Linked DNA regions of Homo sapiens: region 1 is linked to region 2. The links are contacts of gene promoters, found by promoter capture Hi-C in human tissues and cell types (Jung and others, 2019). All regions are on one chromosome and are shown on one strand. The core of a region is centred on a gene start or on the middle of the fragment in contact, and the rest is flanking DNA. Distances in the headings are between cores, read along the strand shown.

Region 1 (5,303 bases), core at 367-2,866, 83 kb before region 2:
CTGCCTCCCGAAGGCCTGCACAGGCCCAGCCTCTGCCTCACAGCAGACTCTCCACGCCCAGCTAGCTCTCGCCTCACTGCAGCCTCCCAAGTCCAAAGCTCCTGCCTCTCGGCCGCTTCGGCAGGCCCAGCTCCCGCCTGCCAGTGGCCTCTTCAGGCCCATGGGGCTCATTCCTCACAACGGCCTTTCCAGGCCCAGTTTTTCCCTTCCGGCGGCCTCTCCGGGCCCAGAACCTCCTCAAGTCGGCCTCTCCAGACCCACTTGCACCCTCCGGGTGTCCTCTCTGGGCCCAGCTCTTCTTCCTGGTTGCGTCTCCAGGCCCGACTCCTGCCTCTCAACAACCTCTTTGGACTCAGTGCCTACCCATCTCCTGGCGGCCTTGGTCGGCCCACAGCTTCCTGAAGCCAAGCTCCCCAGGCCCAGGTCAGGCCTCACGGTGGCCTCTCCAGGCTCAGCTCCTGCCCTCCGATGGCATCTGCAGGCCCCAAACGGCCTCCGGTCGGTGGGCTCCTCTAGGCCCAGCTTGGGCCTCCCGGCGGCCTCTGCAGGCCCAAGTCGTCCTCAAGTCGGCCTGGAATTGGGCCTGGAAGAGCAGCAAGTCGGCCTCCCCGGGCCCAGCTCCGTCCTCTCGGCGGCCTCTCCAGGTGCAAAACTTCCTCGAGTCAGCCTCTCCAGGCCCAGCTCCTCCTGCCTCCCAGTGGCCTCTTTCAGCCCAGCCCAGCTCATGGCTCTCAGCGGCCTTCCCAGGTCCCGCTTTTGACTTTTGGCAGCCTCTTCAGGCCCAGAACTTGACCTCCAGTCGGCCTTTGCAGTCCCGGCCTCCTGCCTCCCGAAGGCCTGCACGGGCCCGGCCTCGGCCTCGGCCTCACAGCGGACTCTCCACGCCCAGCTAGCTCTCGCCTCACTGCGGCCTCCCCAGTCCAAAGCTCCTGCCTTTCGGCCGCTTCTGCAGGCCCAGCTCCCGCCTGCCAGTGGCCTCTTTAGGCCCAGCTTATTCCTCACAACGGCCTTTCCAGGCCCCGTTTTTCACTTCTGGCAGCCTCTTGGACTCTAATTTTTTTATCTTTTGTGTATAAATCCCAAAATATGGAATTTTGGAATATTTCCATCATTATATAAATATTTTGGTAGGTAATTTATTTGGAGTGAGTTTCTGCACCAAGCCCGAATTTTTTATTTTATTTTCCTTATTATTTGGTGTTAAACAGGTTTAATGACGGTCATGGCAACTTTCTGGCACAATAAAAAATATCCCCGTGATCAACGTGTTCTGTTCTGGGGAAGGGGGCAAAGGCAGGGTGAATCACTTTCTTAAAAAGTACAACTCAAGTTGGGATAGCAGAGGGAATGGGGAGAAAACCCTCCCGCTGCCTGTGTCGAAGTGCAGGAGCTTCCACCCCCATACTCACCTGAGTCCAGCCCCTCTGGGGAAAGAAGGGGTGCATGAACTCCCCATAGTCGACAGGCACCTCCCTGTGGCCCAAGGCCCTCTTCACACTCCATCCTGTAGCCCCAGCAGGAGCTATTTTCCGAAAAGTGAAAAGCTCTGAAGGTCCCACACTTCATGATATGTACAGGGGCTCGGAGGAGGGAAACTGCCAAGCTTTCCCCCGGTACAGCTGCAGGGATAGTGGGTATATATAAGAGGAGCAGGCCTTGGCCAGGCCTGGTGGCTCACACCTGTAATCCCAGCACTTTGGGAGGTGGAGGCAGGCGGATCACGATGTCAGGAGATCGAAATCAGCCTGGCCAAGATGGTGAAGCCCCGTCTGTACTAAAAATACAAAAATTAGCCGGACGTGGTAGCGTGTACCTGTAATCTCAGCTACCCGGAAGGCTGAGGCAGGAGAATTGCGTGAACCAGGCAGGAAAAGGTTGCAGTGAGCCAAGATCGCACCACTGCACTCCAGCCTGGGCGACAGAGCAAGACTCCGTCTCAAAAAAAAATTAAAAAAAGCAGGCCTTATTCCATCCCAAACTGAAAGGATTAAATGGCTTTACCCGGGAGAAGATAACCATCCTGACCTCCATGGCTACCCCCACATACTGTCCATGTTCTCAGGGGGTACTGTGAGTCCTGGGATCTTCTTTGGGGTCGCCCATCTGCCTGTGGTAGTTATGGAGGGACCCAGGTGTTGAGGCAGGGCTGGGGTGTCCCCTTCCAGCCAGGCTGTCGAGGCCCCAACTCTGGGGCAGAGGCAGGGGCAAGGCACCCAGAGTTGCACCAGAGCCTGAGCAGGGTGAGGTGGGGTCAGGCAGGGCTGGGAGTCAGGGCAGGGGCAGCAGCAGTGGACCCGCTATGCACACATTTTCTTCTCCAAGGTTTGTGTGCAGAACATCCTGCCCATGCTGCCCCAGCAGCTTCAGTTGGCACCTGCCCCAGTCCAGCCTCTGGGACCATGCAGCGGCTCCCAGTGGCCCTGCACCCACCACCAGCATCCGTTTCACCTGCAGTTGAAGATCCGTGAGGTGCCCAGAAGATCATGCAGTCATCAGTCCCACGGAACAGCCCACGAGGCTGAGGCTCCTCCCACTGGACCGCCCCCCAACTGGCACCACTGCTGCCCCTGCCCCTACTCTCAGCCTCACGTGACTCTCGGGCAGAGGCAGTGGTGGGGCAGCCAGGGCAGCATCAGAGTCTGAGCCAGGTGAGGTGGGGTCAGGACCCCCGCAGGGCTGGGAGTCAGGGCAGGGGCAGAACAAACCTTGGAGGGGAAGATGTGTGCATAGTGGGCCTGGAGGGCAGCTGTGGCCTAGTGGACAGGAAGAAGCAGTGGGCCTGGAAGAGCTGCATGATCAAGGCCAGCACTGGTCCAGGGCGCGTGCAGTGAAGAGGACAGCGCCTTCTCCGTCTCCGGTTCCCTGAGCCCGTCCTCGGCTTCTCCACCTGTACAGGCAAAGGGGAAGCTGTCCCCATCACACATGGCACACTTGGGGGTGTTGGGCTTTGGGCTGCAGCTGGAGCATCTTCTCATCTTGCATTTGGGTGTGGTGGGGTCCGCCAGTGCGGGATCCATGTCCGTGGGGTTCCCTCTGCCCCAACCCCCAAAGCCCAGTTTCTCCTCTTCAGGCTCTGCCCCCTGGGTGGCTCAGCCCAGCTCCTGCCTAGGAAAGCCTTAGTGTTGGGAGGGACCACAATGACTGAGGGGCCTGGTAGCTCCAGGTCGCCCACACTTTCAGGTCTCTTGCACCAGAAGGTGGCAGGATCCATTGGGAGGAAACAGGTCACCTTGGAAGGCGTCCCTGGGCCCCCATCCCCAGGGGTAGGGGCCGTAGGGGGCCCGCTCTGCTGCCCTGACCAGACTCCTGGGCTTTGAAGGCTCCTGGGCCCAGTAAGAAGGAGGTGGGTGCCAAGGTTGAGGAGGAAGCATCCGAGAATGTGTAGGAGAAGGACGGGGTGGGACCATAGACTTTGCCAAAAACTGCAGGTGGATCGGGGGACCCTGGGGGCTCAGGATTCAGCAAGGGGCGGCAGGAGTAAAGGAGGAAGGAATGACAGGTGCAAATACCTTCCCATGAAAGCCCTTGTTGCGCTCTGGCTCCTCCCCAGAGCTGTCCCCACTCTCAGTCGGTCACCCACTCCTTGAACTTGAGATCAGTGTCAGTGGTGCTAAAGCCGTCATCAGCAATGACATCATCACCCCCTCCTCCTCATGGATGACCATGTGCTCCTCGTCATTCGCTATGTCCTCACTGGCCATGTGCTGGATTAATGAATGGATAAATGAAATTGGTATATACATACACTATATATACATACAATTCCTTAAAAAGGAAGGAAATCCTGTCACAATGCAACATGGTTGAAGCTTGAGAACATTATGCTAAGTGTAGTGAGCCAGTCACAAAAATAAAAAAATACTGTATGATTCCACTAATATGAGGTATCTAAAGGAGTCAAATTTATAGAAACAGGAAGTATAATAATACTTGCCAGGGACAGTGGAAAGTGGAAAAGACAAGTTGTTTAAAAGGTACAGAGTTTCAGTTTTGCAAAATGAAGACGTTCTAGAGATCTGTTTCACAATAAAGCAAGTACTTACACATGACACTACTGAGTGGAACACTTAAAATGGCTAAGGTGGTAAATTTCATGTTATATGTTCTTTACCACAAATATTTTTAAAAGTTTATAACCATTTGAAAACACTGGTGATGAAAATTAAAAAACAAAAATAAAAACAAAACAAGCAACTAGATTCAACTACTTTCCTTCCCCAGTGAGAAAGGAAGTGTTGCTATAGACAGTCAATGCATGTCACTGTCTTGACTTCAGTGGACAAATACCTGCTCTGCTAAAAAAAGAAAGATCACTGGGTTAACATCCCTACGTTTGGCCGCTCTCTTACCTTGTCAGCCTCCACACCAGACTTCTCAAGAGCAGATCTCAATTCTGAAGCCTCTGCGTGCTGATGCACACTCACATATTTATGTTATGGCATAGCCTCTGGCTCAATTTTACCTTGAAATAGTTCTTTGGAAGTCTTTTTCTTGGCATTAGTCCTTCTCAACCTCTCTGCTGATTTTAAGCTTAATGGCCTTCTCTACTGGTTAGGATTCTATATATTTTTCTACCTTTCTGACCACTGAATCTGCCTCCTTTACCTCCCTAAAACTAGGTATTACTATGGTCCTGCCTGCCTTCAGCCTCCTTTTGATTCTCCACTTGTTCTGTCTTAACTATCTAATGTATATTACTGTCCACAGTTATCTTTATTACCCTAATATTGTTGCTTCCAGATCCAACCTCTCCCCCAAACCCCAATGTTTGAATTTCTAGCTGTCTGTTAGTCTCCATATGAATATGATCTAATCATCATGGCTCTTTTAAACAAGACAGAGCCACCCAAACACCATGAAACCAGTAACACATATAAGCAGTCCTCTAAAACCTTCACATTAATTACTACCTTGGGCCACTTACCTTGGCCTGTTTTGAGTTCTGTGGTCTGACTTTTCATCATTGTGCATTTTTCCACTGATGCTATGCTTCACTCTTTGGCCTGATACTTTGATAAAGATTCTCTATGTCTGTTGATATTCCTCTCAACATAAATCAAGTTCTTCCTCTGGCCAAGCTGTCTTTGGCTACTGTTAAACATCTTGCCCAATCTGAGAACCTTTAAATTGATACTGCACTTCACTGCTGGCTCCCCCTCAAGCAAACAAGATGAGGATATACCTACATTTCAAACCGTTTCAGTGACCTCCTCCAGACACCTGCTGGACCTCCCGTGTTCCCTTTGTGTCCTAATGGCTTCACTCTGATTCCAAGGATGAATGAAGTCTTAGTCACAGTGATT
Region 2 (5,789 bases), core at 2,549-5,048:
TAAAAGAGGATACAAACAAATGGAAGAACATTCCATGCTCATGGGTAGGAAGAATCAATATCGTGAAAATGGCCATCCTCCCAAAGTAATTTATAGATTCAATGCCATCCCCATCAAGCTACCAATGACTTTCTTCACAGAATTGGAAAAAACTACTTGAAAGTTCATATGGAACCAAAAAAGCCCACATTGCCAAGTCAATCCTAAGCCAAAAGAACAAAGCTGGAGGCATCACGCTACCTGACTTCAAACTATACTACAAGGCTACAGTAACCAAAACAGCATAGTACTGGTACCAAAATAGAGATATAGACCAATGGAACAGAACAGAGCCCTCAGAAATAATGCTGCTTATCTACAACGATCTGATCTTTGACAAACCTGACAAAAACAAGAAATGGAGAAAGGATTCCCTGTTTAATAAATGGTGCTGGGAAAACTGGCTAGCCATATGTAGAAAGCTGAAACTGGATCCCTTCCTTACACCTTATACAAAAATTAATTCAAGATAGATTAAAGACTTAAATGTTAGACCTAAAACCACAAAAACCCTAGAAGAAAACCTAGGCAATACCATTCAGGACATAGGCATGGGCAAGTACTTCATGACTAAAAACACCAAAAGCAATGGCAACAAAAGCCAAAATTGACAAATGAGATCTAATTAAACTAAAGAGCTTCTGCACAGCAAAAGAAACTACCATCAGGGTGAACAGGCAACCTACAGAATGGGCGAAAATTTTTGCAATCTACTCATCTGACAAAGGGCTAATATCCAGAATCTACAATGAACTCAAACAAATTTACAGGAAAAAAATAAACAACCACATCAACAAGTGGGCGAAGGATATGAACAGACACTTCTCAAAAGAAGACATTTATGCAGCCAAAAGACACATGAAAAAATGCTCATCATCACTGGCCATCAGAGAAATGCAAATCAAAACCACAATGAGATACCATCTCACACCAGTTAGAATGGCAATCATTAAAAAGTCAGGAAACAACAGGTGCTGGAGAGGATGTGGAGAAATAGGAACACTTTTACACTGTTGAGGGGACTGTAAACTAGTTCAACCCTTGTGGAAGTCAGTGTGGCGATTCCTCAGGGATCTAGAACTAGAAATACCATTTGACCCAGCCATCCCATTACTGGGTATATAACCAAAGGATTATAAAACATGCTGCTATAAAGACACATGCACACATATGTTTATAGGGGCACTATTCACAATAGCAAAGACTTGGAACCAACCCAAATGTCCAACAATGATAGACTGGATTAAGAAAATGTGGCACATATACACCATGGAATACTATGCAGCCATAAAAAATGATGAGTCCATGTCCTTTGTAGGGACATGGATGAAGCTGGAAGCCATCATTCTCAGCAAACTATCGCAAGGACAAAAAACCAAAGACCGCATGTTCTCACTTATAGGTGGGAATTGAACAATGAGAACACTTAGACACAGGAAGGGGAACATCACACACCGGGGCCTGTTATGGGGTGGGGGGAGGGGGTAGGGATAGCATTAGGAGGTATACCTAATGTTAAATGACGAGTTAATGGGTGCAGCACACCAACATGGCACATGTGTACATATGTAACAAACCTGCACGTTGTGCACATGTGCCCTAAAACTTAAAGTGTAATAAAAAAAGAAAGAAAGTGTATTAGGTTGATAGCTCCCAAGTGATACAGTTTTAATTCTTTGAAAAAAGATTAAAAAATCACAATGTACCTAATTTTGAAAGTAAAGCTAAATTATGAATGTAAAGGACTTCCCATTATGACCTTTGTCCCCAACTCATGAGTGTGTATATGTGTTTTCTTTCCTTTTTTGACATTTAAAAAATTATTTATTTTTTAGAGATGGGATCTCTCTGTTGCCCAGGCTGGAGTGTACTGGCATGATCACAACTCATTGCAATCTCCAACTCCTGGGATCAAGAGATCTTCCCGCCTTAGCCTCCCAAGTAGCTGGGACTACAGGCATGTGCCATTACACCTGGCTAATTTATTTTATTATAATTGTTACAGCCAGGCTCTCCCTATGTTGCTTAGGCTGGCCTCAAACTGCTGGTTTCGAACTCCTGGCCTGAAGTGATTCTCCTGCCTCAGCCTCTCTAATAGCTGGGATTACAGGCAAGAACCACTGCACCAGGCAACTCTTTTTCTTTTTTGTTTTTTTTTGTTTTTTGTTTTTTTGTTTTTTTGTTTTTTTGTTTTTTGAGACGGAGTCTCGCTCTGTCGCCCAGGCTGGAGTGCAGTGGCACGATCTCGGCTCACTGCAAGCTCCGCCTCCCGGGTTCACGCCATTCTCCTGCCTCAGCCTCCCGAGCAGCTGGGACTACAGGCGCCCACCACCACGCCCGGCTAATTTTTTTTGCATTTTTAGTAGAGACGGGGTTTCACCGTGTTAGCCAGGATGGTCTCGATCTCCTGACCTCGTGATCCGCCCGCCTCGGCCTCCCAAAGTGCTGGGATTACAGGCGCGAGCCACCGCGCCCGGCCTCTTTTTCTTTTTTAATGAAATAATAGAGCTAGTAGAAAATAGTTTGCTTTTTAAAGTGCTTACTTAATAAAATAAAAAGTGGGCAACTCGAAATAAAAAATCAAACAATATCTAACATGTTTAAAAGATTTTTAAAAATCAAAATATAAAATAATATCAAAATTTAAAAACTGGGATTCTGTTCCCCAAAGTTCTGTTCAAATCTGTTAGATTTATCTTCCCTTGACCCTAAGTAATATCTTGGGCAAGCCCTAGAGCTTCTTTCCTGACCCTTAGTTAATAAGATGTTATCTGGTCACATTCAGTCACAATAATAGACTCATTTTAGTAATAAACATCTTAAGACTAGTAATTAAAACTCTTTACTTCACACCAAGTTTCCTCCCCAAGCTTGGCCTGTTCCTGGCTGGCAGCCTGAAGTAGGGAAAGGAGAGATATGGTGACCTTTTCTTTGTACCTTTCTAGCTACCCTCTATACCCTGACCCTACATACATAATTGAGCTGTGGCTTCTGACTCTACTGGGTTTGGGGATGAGAGGCATTGAGAGTAAAATGAAGGAGTGGTTTTAATTAATGGCACAGCTAAAACTGGATTTTGTTCTCTCTGCACATGGCAGATGTTTAAAGCTCATTCTTTCTTTTATGCAAGTTTTTACACCATCCAGCCTCATTTGTACCTCTTGAATTTTTGCTCAGTGGCCTATCACCATTCAGGATCAAGACAAAAATCAATGAGCACTTATTGTGTGTCATGCACCCTACAAAGTGCCAGGATATTTATCCAAACTCCTGGCAATGCTAAACACAATGCAAAAAGACATATTAGAAAACGAATCTTATTAACTTTAACTTTTCAACTGTATTTCATCATAAAGTCTTACTTTACAAGATAATTGCTGTTGTGAAAAAGGGAAAGGTCATGGTCTCATTTCCCAGATGTTATTTGATATATGCTATAAATTATATTACCTCCAACATAGTCTGCACTTTGAACTTAGAAAAACAATCTTCAGACGGCATGCATTCTAATTCTTGAAATAAGTATGCCCACAAACTGTAATTTAAGACAGAATAGGTATGCTTCTCATGTTTTAATTCAGTTGAATTTCAGAAGATCTCAGGAATGTACAGAACGAGAATTAAGAATTAATTAATAAGAATTAATTAATTGCTTGACATAGTTAGGTGATTTCCTGAACTTTAAGCTTCCACATCACAGTATGAAGTTGGTTCTAAGATAAGAAATATAATAAATTCTCGCCCAAGGACAGACCTGAATCTCTAGCTGCCTAGAGGCTGACTCAACTGAAATCATGGCGTTTGACAGCACTTGGAAGGTAGACCGGAGTGAAAACTATGACAAGTTCATGGAAAAAATGGGTAAAGACTTTATTTCTTTGTGGCTCATTCTTTGCTTTCTTACAAACATTTTTCTTTCTAACTCCTAAATCTCTAGGAGATTACAGATAGCTTACAGATAGCTCCTGATGTGGTAGAGAGGATCCAGAAGATGTTCAGAGGAGGGAAACCATATTCTCCCTTCTTACATTAGGAAGAATCCACTATCTCACTAATGGAAGAAAAGATTCTTTGAGTGCTGTTCTCTGAAACACACCAAAAAGATCCAGAAATGTTTCCTTCCCTCTTTAACTGAAAAATGACTTTTTTTGTTGTTTACAGTAAGAAAATGGCAGCGTGTAATGATAACTTCCAGATCTGAAAATGTTAAATTCTAGGAGATGGAAAAACAAAGACCATATAAGAAAGTAATGGAAAAGGTTCTCTTAAAATTTATAGCGCTGAATAAGTTAGATTTAATTCTGATTTCTTCTAACTTAAAAAAGTTTTGGAATAATCTTGAGAAGCTGTGTAGTTTTCTCCAGGGCGTTTAATTTAACTGATTTATAATTTGATACCAATACTCTGGCAGCCCATATACTATACAAGATAGGCAAACAAATTTGTGTCATTCCCCTAAAAGAAAAATCTGCATCAATTATAGCTTACAGTTTAGGAACTCTAAGTTTAAATTTATAAAAGTTGTAGATTCTTATAGTGATTTTGGCTTAATATTTGCTAATTTTCTCATTTTTGTGTCAGAAAGAAATGCCACAAGAAGCAAATAGAACTATAAAGTTCAAAATGTTAAAGCCACTAAGAAAAACAAAGGGGCATTTAAGAAAAAAGAATACTGTATATGTGGAATTAAAGATGTGCTTCCTTATAAATATATGAATATACATTTTAATCCTTCATTTGATATTTCTAGAATTTGATTTACTTAACACTGAAATGAACAGTTTGTTAATCTTATTAAGGTTGCTCAGCTCTAAGATTCTATAATTCTGTACTCTACTTAATTTTTCTCAAGTTATGGAAAAACAACTTTAATCAGTTCTCTTGATCTGATTGAACCTGAACTTCTGTAGAAGCAATCTGAATGTTCTTGTGCAAAGGCAATGCTACCGAGTTTTCTTCCCACCCTCAAAATAAACAAACAAAACATAACTTGGAAAAATAAACACTTCCTATGGGATTTGACTTTATTTTCTCCATTGTCTTACCTTTTACAGGTGTTAATATAGTGAAAAGGAAGCTTGCAGCTCATGACAATTTGAAGCTGACAATTACACAAGAAGGAAATAAATTCACAGTCAAAGAATCAAGCACTTTTCGAAACATTGAAGTTGTTTTTGAACTTGGTGTCACCTTTAATTACAATCTAGCAGACGGAACTGAACTCAGGGTAAGAATTTTTTTTTTTATGAGCAATGCATTCTTGATTTTTCTACCCAATATTAAAATGATTTCTGCTCTATTTCATTGGATGGTTTAATTAATGCAGGTCTCCTTCACTAACTGAAGAAGCCAATGAAGTTTGTCTACATTATATATTGCACAAATTGGCAGGATATTTAAATATGTTTTTATTTTTATACGCATCTGTGAAGAATCTGAATTGAACAGTAAGAATTAGAAAACTATCTTTTGAATGACTGAATATAGACCTATTCATAAAGAAATTTAAAACTGTGTTTTTAAACAGTACAGCAAAAGAAGCCTTTAGAGTTAATATGTAACTTAACTGTAATAGCAATTTAACATGTTGAAATAATAAAAGAAATGAATAGATGAACAAATGAGTGAGTTACCAAATGGAAAGATTTGATGTATTGTAGGTCATTGGGAGTGTACCTTTTCATGTTTAAGATAACACATTTTAGGAAGTCATCATTTTCAACAAATTTTTTAAAAACTTTTTTTAGCCT

Evidence for each region. The method cuts DNA at HindIII sites, captures the fragments that hold promoters and counts their contacts. A contact is called where the count stands out against the background at its distance.
Region 1: a fragment that was not itself captured here is called in contact with the fragment with the promoter of FABP2 in region 2 in 2 of the 25 tissues and cell types used here (H1 embryonic stem cells and dorsolateral prefrontal cortex).

Annotation. Positions count from the first base shown.
Region 1 is chr4:119,401,477-119,406,779 of GRCh38, reverse strand. LINC01061 (long intergenic non-protein coding RNA 1061) reads left to right here. Exons shown (of 3, transcript NR_037596.1): 3 at 1-1,257. It also overlaps the pseudogene LOC100131884. Among named protein-coding and RNA genes, the nearest start is that of LINC01061, 6.5 kb to the left of the region's middle. The HindIII fragment of the contact is 5,109 bases long and covers 1-4,170 here.
Region 2 is chr4:119,320,147-119,325,935 of GRCh38, reverse strand. FABP2 (fatty acid binding protein 2) reads left to right here and starts at 3,798. Exons shown (of 4, transcript NM_000134.4): 1 at 3,798-3,900; 2 at 5,094-5,266. The coding sequence starts at 3,834. The HindIII fragment of the contact is 4,027 bases long and covers 395-4,421 here.